3 separate regions of the Homo sapiens genome follow, and regions 2 and 3 are each linked to region 1. Evidence: promoter capture Hi-C in human tissues and cell types (Jung and others, 2019). All regions are on one chromosome and are shown on one strand. The core of a region is centred on a gene start or on the middle of the fragment in contact, and the rest is flanking DNA. Distances in the headings are between cores, read along the strand shown. Region 1 holds the start of TBC1D21 (TBC1 domain family member 21). Region 2 has its middle 36 kb from the start of TBC1D21. Region 3 overlaps LOXL1-AS1 (LOXL1 antisense RNA 1).

Evidence for each region. The method cuts DNA at HindIII sites, captures the fragments that hold promoters and counts their contacts. A contact is called where the count stands out against the background at its distance.
Region 2: a contact is called between a fragment that was not itself captured here and the fragment with the promoter of TBC1D21 in region 1, in 1 of the 25 tissues and cell types used here (psoas muscle).
Region 3: a fragment that was not itself captured here is called in contact with the fragment with the promoter of TBC1D21 in region 1 in 2 of the 25 tissues and cell types used here (H1 embryonic stem cells and spleen).

The regions. Positions count from the first base shown.
Region 1 is chr15:73,871,696-73,875,028 of GRCh38, reverse strand. TBC1D21 (TBC1 domain family member 21) reads right to left here and starts at 1,465. Exons shown (of 11, transcript NM_153356.3): 1 at 1,260-1,465. The coding sequence starts at 1,319. LOC102723657 (a long non-coding RNA gene) reads left to right here and starts at 1,494. Exons shown (of 6, transcript XR_932455.3): 1 at 1,494-1,734; 2 at 2,926-3,086. The HindIII fragment of the contact is 7,159 bases long and covers 1-3,333 here.
Region 2 is chr15:73,835,665-73,839,257 of GRCh38, reverse strand. No RefSeq gene overlaps it. Among named protein-coding and RNA genes, the nearest start is that of TBC1D21, 36 kb to the left of the region's middle. The HindIII fragment of the contact is 6,547 bases long and covers 1-3,593 here.
Region 3 is chr15:73,915,573-73,919,416 of GRCh38, reverse strand. LOXL1-AS1 (LOXL1 antisense RNA 1) reads left to right here. Exons shown (of 3, transcript NR_040069.1): 3 at 34-1,949. Among named protein-coding and RNA genes, the nearest start is that of LOXL1, 9.0 kb to the left of the region's middle. The HindIII fragment of the contact is 5,743 bases long and covers 1-3,844 here.

The DNA.
Region 1 (3,333 bases), core at 216-2,715:
GTGATCTGCCCGCTTCGGCCTCCCAAAGTGCTGGGATTACAGGCGTGAGCCACTGCACCTGGACAGGTTCTCTTTTCTACTCCAGTTCACCTGAGGACAAGATAGACTCCCAACCGTAACAAGGGGTTCCCACTTCAGCAATTATTACCAACCCAGGTGTGGAGGGTGTATCATCAGTACAGCACCGTGATGAAGAAAATGGTTTAAAACAGTGGTTCACAAAGCTAATTGTGCATCACAGTGCCCTGGAGGGATGAGTTACAAAAAACACAGATCTCTGGGCTTCGTCTCCAGTTTATTGGTTCAGAAGATCTGGGGCCCAAGAGTCTGCATTCTTACAAGTTCCCAGTTGGTGCTAATGCTGCAGGTTTGGATGCCACACTTTGAGAATACTGAGTTTTGCACCCCACCTGTCTGGGTCGAAATACAACTTCTGCCACTTAACAAGCTGTGTGACTGTAGGCAAGTGACAAAGTCTCTGTGGCTCCATGTTCTCATTTATAAAAGGAAGACAACAGCATTATTCACTTCATAGAGTTGTGATGAGAATGAATGACTATAAATAAAGCATTTAGAACATTCATCGTACATAATAAATGCTATGTGACAGTTTATTTTATTAGCCTTCTCTAAGCTCAGAGAAATGAGAAAGATATAAAGAAAATTTAAAGCAAGGCCTGGTGATAATTTGCCATAAAGCAGTAACATTTAAAACTCAGGGAGAGGAGTGTCCATTTTGCATTTTTATGTATCACTCTCTTAATCACTATGATTAATGAGACTTAAGATTGGCTAAAGTTATTGTAATTAGTTATGATTTTGAAAAAATACCGTGTGGAAAATTTTTATGACTGAAGCCGACTTCTAACAAATAGCTGTATCTTGTAAACTGGGTTTAGAACTACCTACTAACAAAAGCATTACTGCCACCTGGTGGCAGTATACCAAAATTGTTGGCAAAAAGCACCGATGAAAATCTATCAGCATCTTCAGGTTCGCACCTGCAAACCTACAACTCAATAAAGTTAGAATAGCACATATGTGGAGAAGGTTTTGCTGGCTTGGAAAGAAGGTGAAAGGGGGCTTGGATGTCTCAGTCCTGTCCTTGGGCTGATGGTAAGAGTAAGGTACAACCGCCCTTGCTCCACCTTCTATGTTAGCTCAGGGTTCTAGCTTTTCCTACCCAGCAGGGGAAAATGGTCCCAGTGCCAACCAGAGGCTGGGGAGGGAGGCACTCAGAGCTGACAAAGAACACGCACCAGGATGAAGGAGGCTGACTGTCTGGCAGAGAGGCTGTTTTCAGGAGAGAGGGTGGTCATGGCCCCTGCTGTCTTCCGAACAGCCTCTGATCAGAACTCACTTGGAGCCCTAGTGATGCTTAATCCTTTTCGGAGATGGGTTGCATTCCCAGGAGGAACTGGCTGCTCCTGACCTCCCACACTTGAACAGAGCCGGCCAGCAGTGTGTCACAAGTCCCCTGGAACTCTCATCACAATGACCTGGAACACGGGAACACCCACCTTTAGAGATGAGACACAAGCAGGAGAAGAGGGATTAAACCTGCTAGTTTTGGAAAAAAAAAAAAAAAGGAAAGAAAAGAAAAGAAAGAAAGAAAAACAAAAAACAACAACAAACAGAAAAATGCAAAACTGCAGAACACGCAGTGGAGGTTGGATTCAGAGGACATGGGGATCAGTGTGGGCTGTGCTGGTCAAGGAGGGCTTCCAGGGAGAGGTGGGCCATGAAGCCTTGCTCTCTATCTCTGACTCTTCCTCTGGACTCTCTTAGCTGGACTCCCTCCCTATTCCACCAGACCAGTGCCCAAAGTTGGAGAATAACTAGAAACCAGGCTTCAGATGTCTTGGGTACCAGTTATAAAGATTCAGAATCAGTATGTCAGTGCTGGGGCCTGGGGGGCTGGGGAATGTGTTTTGATATGCCTCCTGGGGTGACTTAGCTTCAGCATTGGAATGGTAGCTTCTGGGGTGGAGATCAGTTTTGTTTAGCTTTTTATTTGGAGCACTTACGATCGTGCCTGAGTAGCTGAGTTAATGATTTAATTGAATGGGAGAATAAATGAAGCTGTCTTAGACCTCATCTCACTTCCCTCTCTGTATGTATGACAGAGATTTGTGCCTGCCCCATATCACCTCCTACCCTGAGTTCCTTTAGGCCAGGGTCAACATCAGATTCCTCTGTGGTTCCCTCTCCCAATGCCAGTTCTGCCATCACTTGGCACTTGGTAGGTGCTCAATATTTGTTGCATGGACCCAAGGAGTTGGCTCTGCTTGGCTCCAGCATCACTCTTCTCCACCTTAAGCATTGCTTGCACTTCTACTCAGGTCCCATCTGGCTCTAAAGCATCCTTAGTCATTAGGAGATGATAGTAATTCGACCAACCAAATTGGAATCAGGAGCTGGGTGTTGGAATTTGGACTCTGACCTCAAATTTGGATGCTCCCCGCTTCTGAGCTACAGATTCCCCAGACATGAAATCAGAATACAGTCAACCTCTGGCTTTCACCTCCTTATTAACATAATGAATCACTGTCCATATGGAGTCTTCCACGGACACAATTCATTGTCTCATTTACTGTTTCTGTTCTGCTTGCCTGCGGCACTGCAGAAGGCCTTTTAAATCAAAATGCCTTATTATCGGCCTCTCTCCTCTACCCACTACCCTAGCTCAACCTAGGAGAGAGTTAAGAGCCTCTTCCCTTTGATCTACTGCCCCTAGGTCTTCATGGAGTGGGAGGTGGGCAACGTTGAGTAGGGAAGGTGTGGAGTAAGGATGGGGCCCCTTGCACATTAGGGTGGCTTCATTCTAAGGTCTGCAAGAAGTTTCCAAAGCAAATGTTTAGAGCAAGAGACATAGACATCATTTAGGATTATCTATGTCTCTGTTCTTCCACATTAACCACGTAGGCAACTGAGGATTCACTGCAATTGTTCCTTGAGAAGATGAGGATCAGGTCGGGAATTGGAAACATCTGAGGGCTCAATTCAACCTGGCTTCTAAAACGAACATGGTGAACATAGATCAACTACTGAACTTCTTTTAACCTCTGGCATCCTATCTGTGAATTGTAGGTGATAACCCTTCCCCAAATGAGCCAATACAGTTTAGTCATATTACAAAAGCCCCATAGCAACCACATGGAGGCTTAATATTCAAACAGAACTGCAGGACTCTGTAACGGAAGCAAAAAGGGCTTTTATTCCATCCCTCTTTCTTCTTTTTTCAGATTCTGAAAGGGAATTACATGTGTCCATTTTTTTCCAGGGCTGAATGATCCTTACCATGTCCATTTATTTACATAATTGCCCAAGTGC
Region 2 (3,593 bases), core at 816-3,315, 36 kb after region 1:
CAGTTAGTTCCATCTGTCTTAATTACATTTTCAATTTTGTCACTTACCATCACTTCATATTTCCTTCAGCAGCTGAGCATGCCCACGAGGACCTGGGGGGGTCCCTGCCCTTCCAGGCCACTCAGTGGTTCCCGGCTCCATCACTCAGGACTGGAAAATTGCTGGCTCCTGCCCTGGGGCTGTCTGTAGAGCAGGCTGAATAAATCGCCACCCCGATCCTCTGCCCCAACTAGACAGCGTTGGCTGTGGCCCAAGGCTCTGATCCGGGACTTCCCTGCTGCCAACTCCTCCAGCCGGCTGTCGGCCTGCCTGTCCACTGCCTGCCCATGGGTTTCAGGGTGACCTGGGGCTTGTCTCCAAAACACTGCAGGAAGCTGTGAGTCCACCAGGCTGCCCTGTGCTGGGCACCTGCTCAACTGGCTTCTCGCCTGGCTCTAGCCCTTTCTGAAGTTGCATGAGAATTCAGGCAGCTCGTTTTCCTCCTCTGTGTCTGTATATCCTCTTCTACCAAAGTGTCAGAAGGTCTAAACCACAAGTTTTGGGGAAGAGTAAAGAGGGCCCCCGGAAGTGAAATGAAGGTTAACTATGATATAAGGGAATAAATCACACTTATAATAGCCTTTCATTTTGGTTTATTACCAAGGGAACTAATGAAATTGAATTCATCCACTGTGTTAAACACTCTTTCCCCATGAAAAGTGAATCCTTCAGCCTGGGCCACATAGTGAGACCCATCACTACAAAAAATTTTTAAAAATCAGCTGGGCATGGTGGCACATGCCTGTGGTCCCAGCTACTCAGGAGGCTGAGGAGGGAGGATTGCTTGCACCTTGGGAAGTGGAGGCTGCAGTGAGTCATGATCATGCTACTGTACTCCAGCCTGGGTGACAAAGTGAAATACTGTCTCAAAAAAAAAAAAAAAAAAAACAGACTCCGGTACTAGACTGAACCATGGTTCTGGCACAGACAAAGCTGTGGCCACAGGTTGGTCCCTGTGGCTGTCTAATCTCTGATCCTTCCCTGGACCACTCTCTCATCCTGAACAGTCTAAACCTTGGTCATAAATTGAAACTCGGCCCTGACCCTGGCCAGTTTGGGTCTATCCCCACATCCTAATCACTTACTTCTCACAGAAATGGGTGAAGAGAGAATAGCTGGTTGGGTGCATCCCTAGCCCTGTGCCTGTCATGGGTTCATAGGACGGCCCTTGTTCCCCAGGTCACAGGCCTACTTGAGGCCCCCTGTATGAAGGGTGAATAGTGTTTCTTCCTGGGGAGGAGCTGCAAGGCAGACGAGACAGGGGGCAAGGCAGAATCAGGCACCACTTCATGACCTTGAGGCCATTCCTTGAATGTGTCTGTCCCCATCTTTGTCCTCAGAGTCTTGTAGATACAGCTGAGAACTGTCTCAGAGTCACGGGCCTCTCCCTCTGGAGCAATGCTGAACCTCTCCTTTCCTCCCCATCTCCCAGGCCATCCTTCTGGTCTCTATCCTGCCCCAGCTTAAGAGTCTGCTCCCGGGGTTAACCGCAGGCACCCTGCCACCCTCCTCCTGGCCTTTCACAGCCTTGACCAGGAGAGGCCAAGGTTGGAGGCAGGGTGGGGCAGCTCCCTGGCTGATACAGCTCTGGAGAGAGAAGAGAAAAATGGCCTCCACTGGAGAGCTTTTCTCCTCTCCATCTCCAGCAATGCCTCCTCCAGGAAGGCTTCCAACACCCCTGTATCCTCTGAGCTCTCTCCAGCTTCCCTCAGCATAGACTCAATGGCTCTCATTTGGCAACAGCTACACACAGCCCTGAATATTGCTTTGTCTGCCAATGAGTTTTTATTGCTGCACTCCTGATGGGCAGGTTCAATTGAAACTACAGTAACATCAACACGATGCACGCTAGAGTATTAACACTTCTCAGACCTCATTTTACACTTAATAGCGGTGTGACAGGACATGGGCTCAGCTGCTCGGTGACTTCAACAAGGTAGAAGTTTATTTCTTATCTATGCAAAGGTCCAGCCTGGGTGGCATTTCTGTGACTGCTACCATGATTCTCTGCCATCCTAGGAAGTTGTCCTTGCCACTGCATCCTACCCCCGCTGGCAAGAAGGAGTGATAGTGAATATCACCAGGTAGCATTCAGCCTGCTCCCCCTCCCCGCCTGCTATGCTTTCACTGTATTACAGAGCCTGGAAGCCTCAGTACTGTGTTTGTCAGACTCCTGCCACCAGGATTCTGGATGTCACTAGTTCCAGCCAATGAGCTTTACTCACATGCTATTTGCAAGGGAGAAAGATGGCTGAAGCTGTTCTGCCTTAGGCGGCAGAAGCACCTGGCCTGCAGCCTCTGGCCCCTGGGATCCTCCAGTCCACTGTCTGGCCTCATTGCAGCTGGGGGTGGCTATGACATTGGCAGCAGTTTCCCGGAGCTTCCTGACCTCTGGTTTGTAGCTCCTGTGATGTGACTGGAAACGCTAACAACATCCCACAACCTTCATGCTTCCAGTCCTGCCAAGGAATTTGTAAGCAACCAGATCCCTCTATTAAATCTCTTTCTGTCTGGAATACCTAGAATAGTATTTTCTTCCTGTGCTACACCCAGACTGATTCTCAAGTGACACCTACCACACCCTACTGGCCAGAACCTGGTTCCATGACCACACCGAGGGAAGCTAGGAAATGTAGATTTTGTTCTGAGATGCCACGTACCCATCTATAATGCAGGCAATCTATTTAGCCAAGGAAGAGGGAGAGAACGGACGCAGAAGAACACTAGCAATCTGTCCTGCGTGCTGTGATAAACCCTAAGAAGATGAGAACAAGCCTTATGAGAGTGACTACCCCAGCTCTGCTAACTCTGAAGTACTCCAAGACCGTTTAACTACTACAGATTCCAGAACCCCAGCCGTGAATCCAAGTCTGCCAGTATGACAAGTTCCTCCGCCACTGATGTTCTGACCATGGTGTGGAGAGATAAAGCAAAATGAACGAGGGCTTGGAGTAGAGGCTCTGGGCTACCTTGCCAGCTGATCTAGCCTTCTGCCCCATGCTGACAAAGCCTCATGCTGAGCACCGGGAATCCAGAGAAGAAGGACTCGACATGGTTGCTGTCCTCAAGGAAGCCACTCTTCCGAAACATAGCAAACTTTTTCATCTCCATTTTGGCCCCTCTTGTAAGACATTCACCTCTCTTCCTCTCAGCCCTTGAAAAAAAAAAAAGTCCCTTTCACCTCCAAGACCCTGTCCCCAAATACCCTGCTGCGCAGGAGGACACCTTCTCCAACTCCCAGGCAGAGTACATGGCTCCCTCCCTGGGCTCCCCCACTCCAGTGATTGGTTCCAATTCATCCCCGGCCACACTGGATGGTGCTGGTCTATCCATGGCCCTGGCTCTGCCACTTGATGGGCTTGGTGGGGTCTGTGATGACAAGGACCCCATCTGTCTGATGAATTTCTGATGCCCAGACTCCAGCACTGCTTGCAACCCCAAATCTAGCCTCCATCCACACTCACCCACACCCTTCCCAGATTTGCAGTAGTTTCTCACACCTCTGAGACTCCAAAAATCGTGCTTCCTCCTCCTGGGACACTTTCTCCACCTCC
Region 3 (3,844 bases), core at 167-2,666, 44 kb before region 1:
TCACGCACGGCTAATTTTTTTGTATTTTTTTAGGTGAGACAGGATTTCACCATGTTAGCCAGGATGGTCTTGATCTCCTGACCTCATGATCTGCCCACCTCGGCCTCCCAAAGTGCTGGGCTTACAGGCGTGAGCCACCGTGCCCGGCCAAAAATAACTTTTAAAAACATGAGTATAGCATACACACACACAAAAGTCCACAAATCCTAGGTGTACCACTTGATGAATGATCCCAACGTGAGCACACCTCTGGATTACCACCTGGATCAAGAAATAGGACATCACAGCAGCTGGCAGCTTCCAAGGAGAAGCTCTGGAAAGTTCTGCCTGTCTCAGCACCTGGCTGGATCGGAAACGAGTTTTCTTTAACCAGATTTTTAATGACTGACTTATGTGGACAAATCATAACTGAATGAATCACCTCCTTTGTTGATTTTTTTGGGTACTTTATTTGCTATTATAAATGATGCTGTAATAAGCACCCTTGAAGAAATCTTCATATCTGCCTCTCCTGTGTAGCAGGTCACAGTGCCTGGGTTTGGTTCTAGCCCTCATTTGTGAACTGTGTGACTCACCATGCCTTTTTTCTTTCTGTAAGACAGGAATAATGGTAAGAATTTAAATGGGGGTAATATGGAGCGCGTTTAGTTCAGAGCCTGGTGCATACAAGCACTCAATAAGTACTGGCGATTATTAGACCTTTAGATTAATTTATTAGAAGTTGGATTTCTGGTGAAAGGGTTTGAGTGTTTTTGAGGCTTTGGCACAGAATACCCAGCTGGTCCCAGAAAGGTGGTTCCCATTTACCTGCCCGAAGGTAATTCACCCTTACTGATACTGAGTACTGTTTTCTAAAAGAACATTAAAAATTGGATAGGTTAAAAACAGGTGAATACATTTTTTTAGTTGCATTTTTTTGGTTACCCGTGAGAGTGAACATGTTGCCATGTGTTTGCTGACCTCCTAAATGGTCTATTTGCTCCTACCTTTGTACCCCAAAAGTCTGCTCTCAAGATGGTAGCCAGAATGATCCTTTTTGAGACATAAGTCAAAATTTCACTCTTCTCCTTAAAGCTCTGCAATGGTTCTCAGGTTAAAAGCCAAAGTCCTGTTCAAGGCCTCCAGGGTCCTCACCACTTGGTCCCTTGCTCTTTCTGTTCTAGCCAACTTGGCCTTCTCCTGCCCCTCCGCCGCACCATGGCAATTTCCCCTGCTCTGTGTGGTCAACTACCTGAATCTGTTCAAAGCTTTGCTCAAATGTCTCCTTCCTGATGAGACCTCCCCAGCCCCTGAGCTCCCCATGCCTCACTCCTGATCGCCTTACTTAACCCTTCTTTTTCTTTTTTGCCAGTAGTACTTATCACCGTCTAAAATACTTCATAATTTACTTGTTTATTGTTTGCCCCTCTCCAATAGAATGTAAGCTCCTTGGGGCAGGGACCTTTGTCCTTTGTCTTGTTCACTGCTGTGTCCCATGTGTAAACTTGTCTGGCACAGAAGAGGTGCTCGATAAATATTTGTTGAGTGAATGAATGGTAAATTTTCTGTTCATATTCTTTGACTATTTTCTATTGTAATGTTCATCTTTTTAGTATTGGTTTATAAGATGTATATTTAGCACCTTTTCATATATCACTCTTTGTCACATATTATGCAACTAATTTGTCATTTCCATCAATTTTTAAAATACTTTCTTGATGCTTCATTTTTAAGCTGTCAGATTATTAATCTTTTCTTTATGGTCTTGGACTTTATTGTTGCATAACCGCTGCCTTCACCAGGAACATATAAATTTTCAATTAAATGTTCTTCTGAGATTTTATGATTTCACTTTTTATATTAAACTCTTCATTTTGTCTTCATGTGTGGTGAGAGGTAAGAACATAACTTTAAAGCAAATTAACCAACTATCCCCAAATGAATTATAAATAAATTAATCATTTTCCAATGATCTGAAAGGCCATTTTATCATACACTAAATATTTTTGTGTGTTTGACTGGGTTTACCGTTCTGTTCCGTTGGCCTATCACATCGTTCTTACATTGGTATTTGTTGCCCTATTTTAATGATTGTAACTTTTTAATAAGGGTTAATGACTGAGAATACAAGTCCCATTGTTTTGTTTTATTATTTTTATTATTTTTTTGAGACAGGGTTTCACTCTGTCACCCAGGCTGGAGTATAGTAGCACTATCTCGGCTCATTGCAACCTCTGCCTCCCTGGTTCAAGTGATTCTCCCACCTCAACCTCCCGAGTAGCTGGGACTACAGATGCATGCCACCACACCCAGCTAATTCTTGTATTTTTAGTAGAGACAGGGTTTCACCATGTTGACCAGGCTGGTCTTGAACTCCTGGCTTCAAGTGATTCACCTGCCTCGACCTCCCAAAGTGCTGGGATTACAGGCGTGACTCACCACGCCTGGCCCATTTTTTTCTTTTGAGGTGTTCTTTGTGGCAATTCATATATTCTTTAAGATAAATTCTAAACTTTTTTTTTCTGCCGAGATAAACTAGCAGACAAATCCCACTGGACATTGCAATTGGATTAGTTTTGTAGATTAATTTAGTGATAATCAACTTCTTTGCACCATTGAGTGCTTCTGTCCGGGAACGTGGCATATCTTTCTATTATTAAGGTCTTTTTTATTATAGGTCTTTAGGGAAGCTTTATTTTATAGATGAATGTAGTGTGTTTGGTGCTTATTTTCATAAAATAAAGCAATGACATCTGTGGCAGGCAGCTTCTGAAATGGCTCCCAATGATCCTTACCTTCTGATAGTCACCCCCTTGGAGAATCCCTTTCCTTTGTGTGTGGGCTGGATCTAGTGACTTGCTTCTCATAAATAGAATATGGCAAAAAATGATGGGTTGTTACTTCTGAGATTAGGTTATAAGAGGCGAATTTCTGTTTTGCTGTAATTTTGTCTCTCTAACCCTCTTGCTTTCCTGTGCTCATGAAACCAGCTGCTGTGTTGTGAGCCACCTTATGGAAAACCCATGTGGCAGAGAACCGAGGGTGGTGGCTGGCCAACAGCAAGCCAGGAGCTGAGGCCCACAGTCCAACAACTGGTGAGGAACCACATGCTGCCAGCAGCCATGTGAGGGAACTTAGAAGCAAATCCTTCCCCAGTTGAGCCTTCAGATGACACCAGAGCCTTGGCTGACCCCTTACTTTTACCCTTGTAAGAGACTTTGAGCCAGAAGACTTGGCTAAACCACACCTGGATTCCTGACCCACAGAAACTTGAAATAATAAATGTGTTGTTTTAAGTCACTCGGTTTTGGGGTAATTTGTTACATAGCAGAGATAACTAATATAGCCCCCCTTTTTTGCATCATGTTTTCTAACAGTTTATTAGGAAATGAAAATTTATTTTAGGCTGGGTGCAGTGGCTCACACCTGTAATCCCAGCACTTTGGAAGGCCGAGGTGGGTGGATTGCCTGAGCTCAGGAGTTCAAGAACAGCCTGGGCAATGTGGCAAAACCCTGTCTCTACTAAGAATACAAAAATTAGCTGGGCATGATGGCGTGAGCACCAGTAGTCCTAGCTACTTGGGAGGCTGAGGTGGAAGGATCGCTTGAGCCCAGGAGGCAGAGATTATAGTGAGCCAAGATCACCCCCATTGCACTCCAGCCTGGGTGACAGAGCAAGACCTTGTCTCAAAAAAAAGAAAAGAAAAGAAAAAGTTATTTTATAACTAGCCACTTTACTAAATTCTTCTATTTTGATAATTTTGTATTTTCTCAGTTTTTTATGGGAAGACAATCATATTTGCAAATAATTATAATTTGTTTCCCTCTTTTTTATTTTTTCTATCTAATTTCATTAGCTAGGATC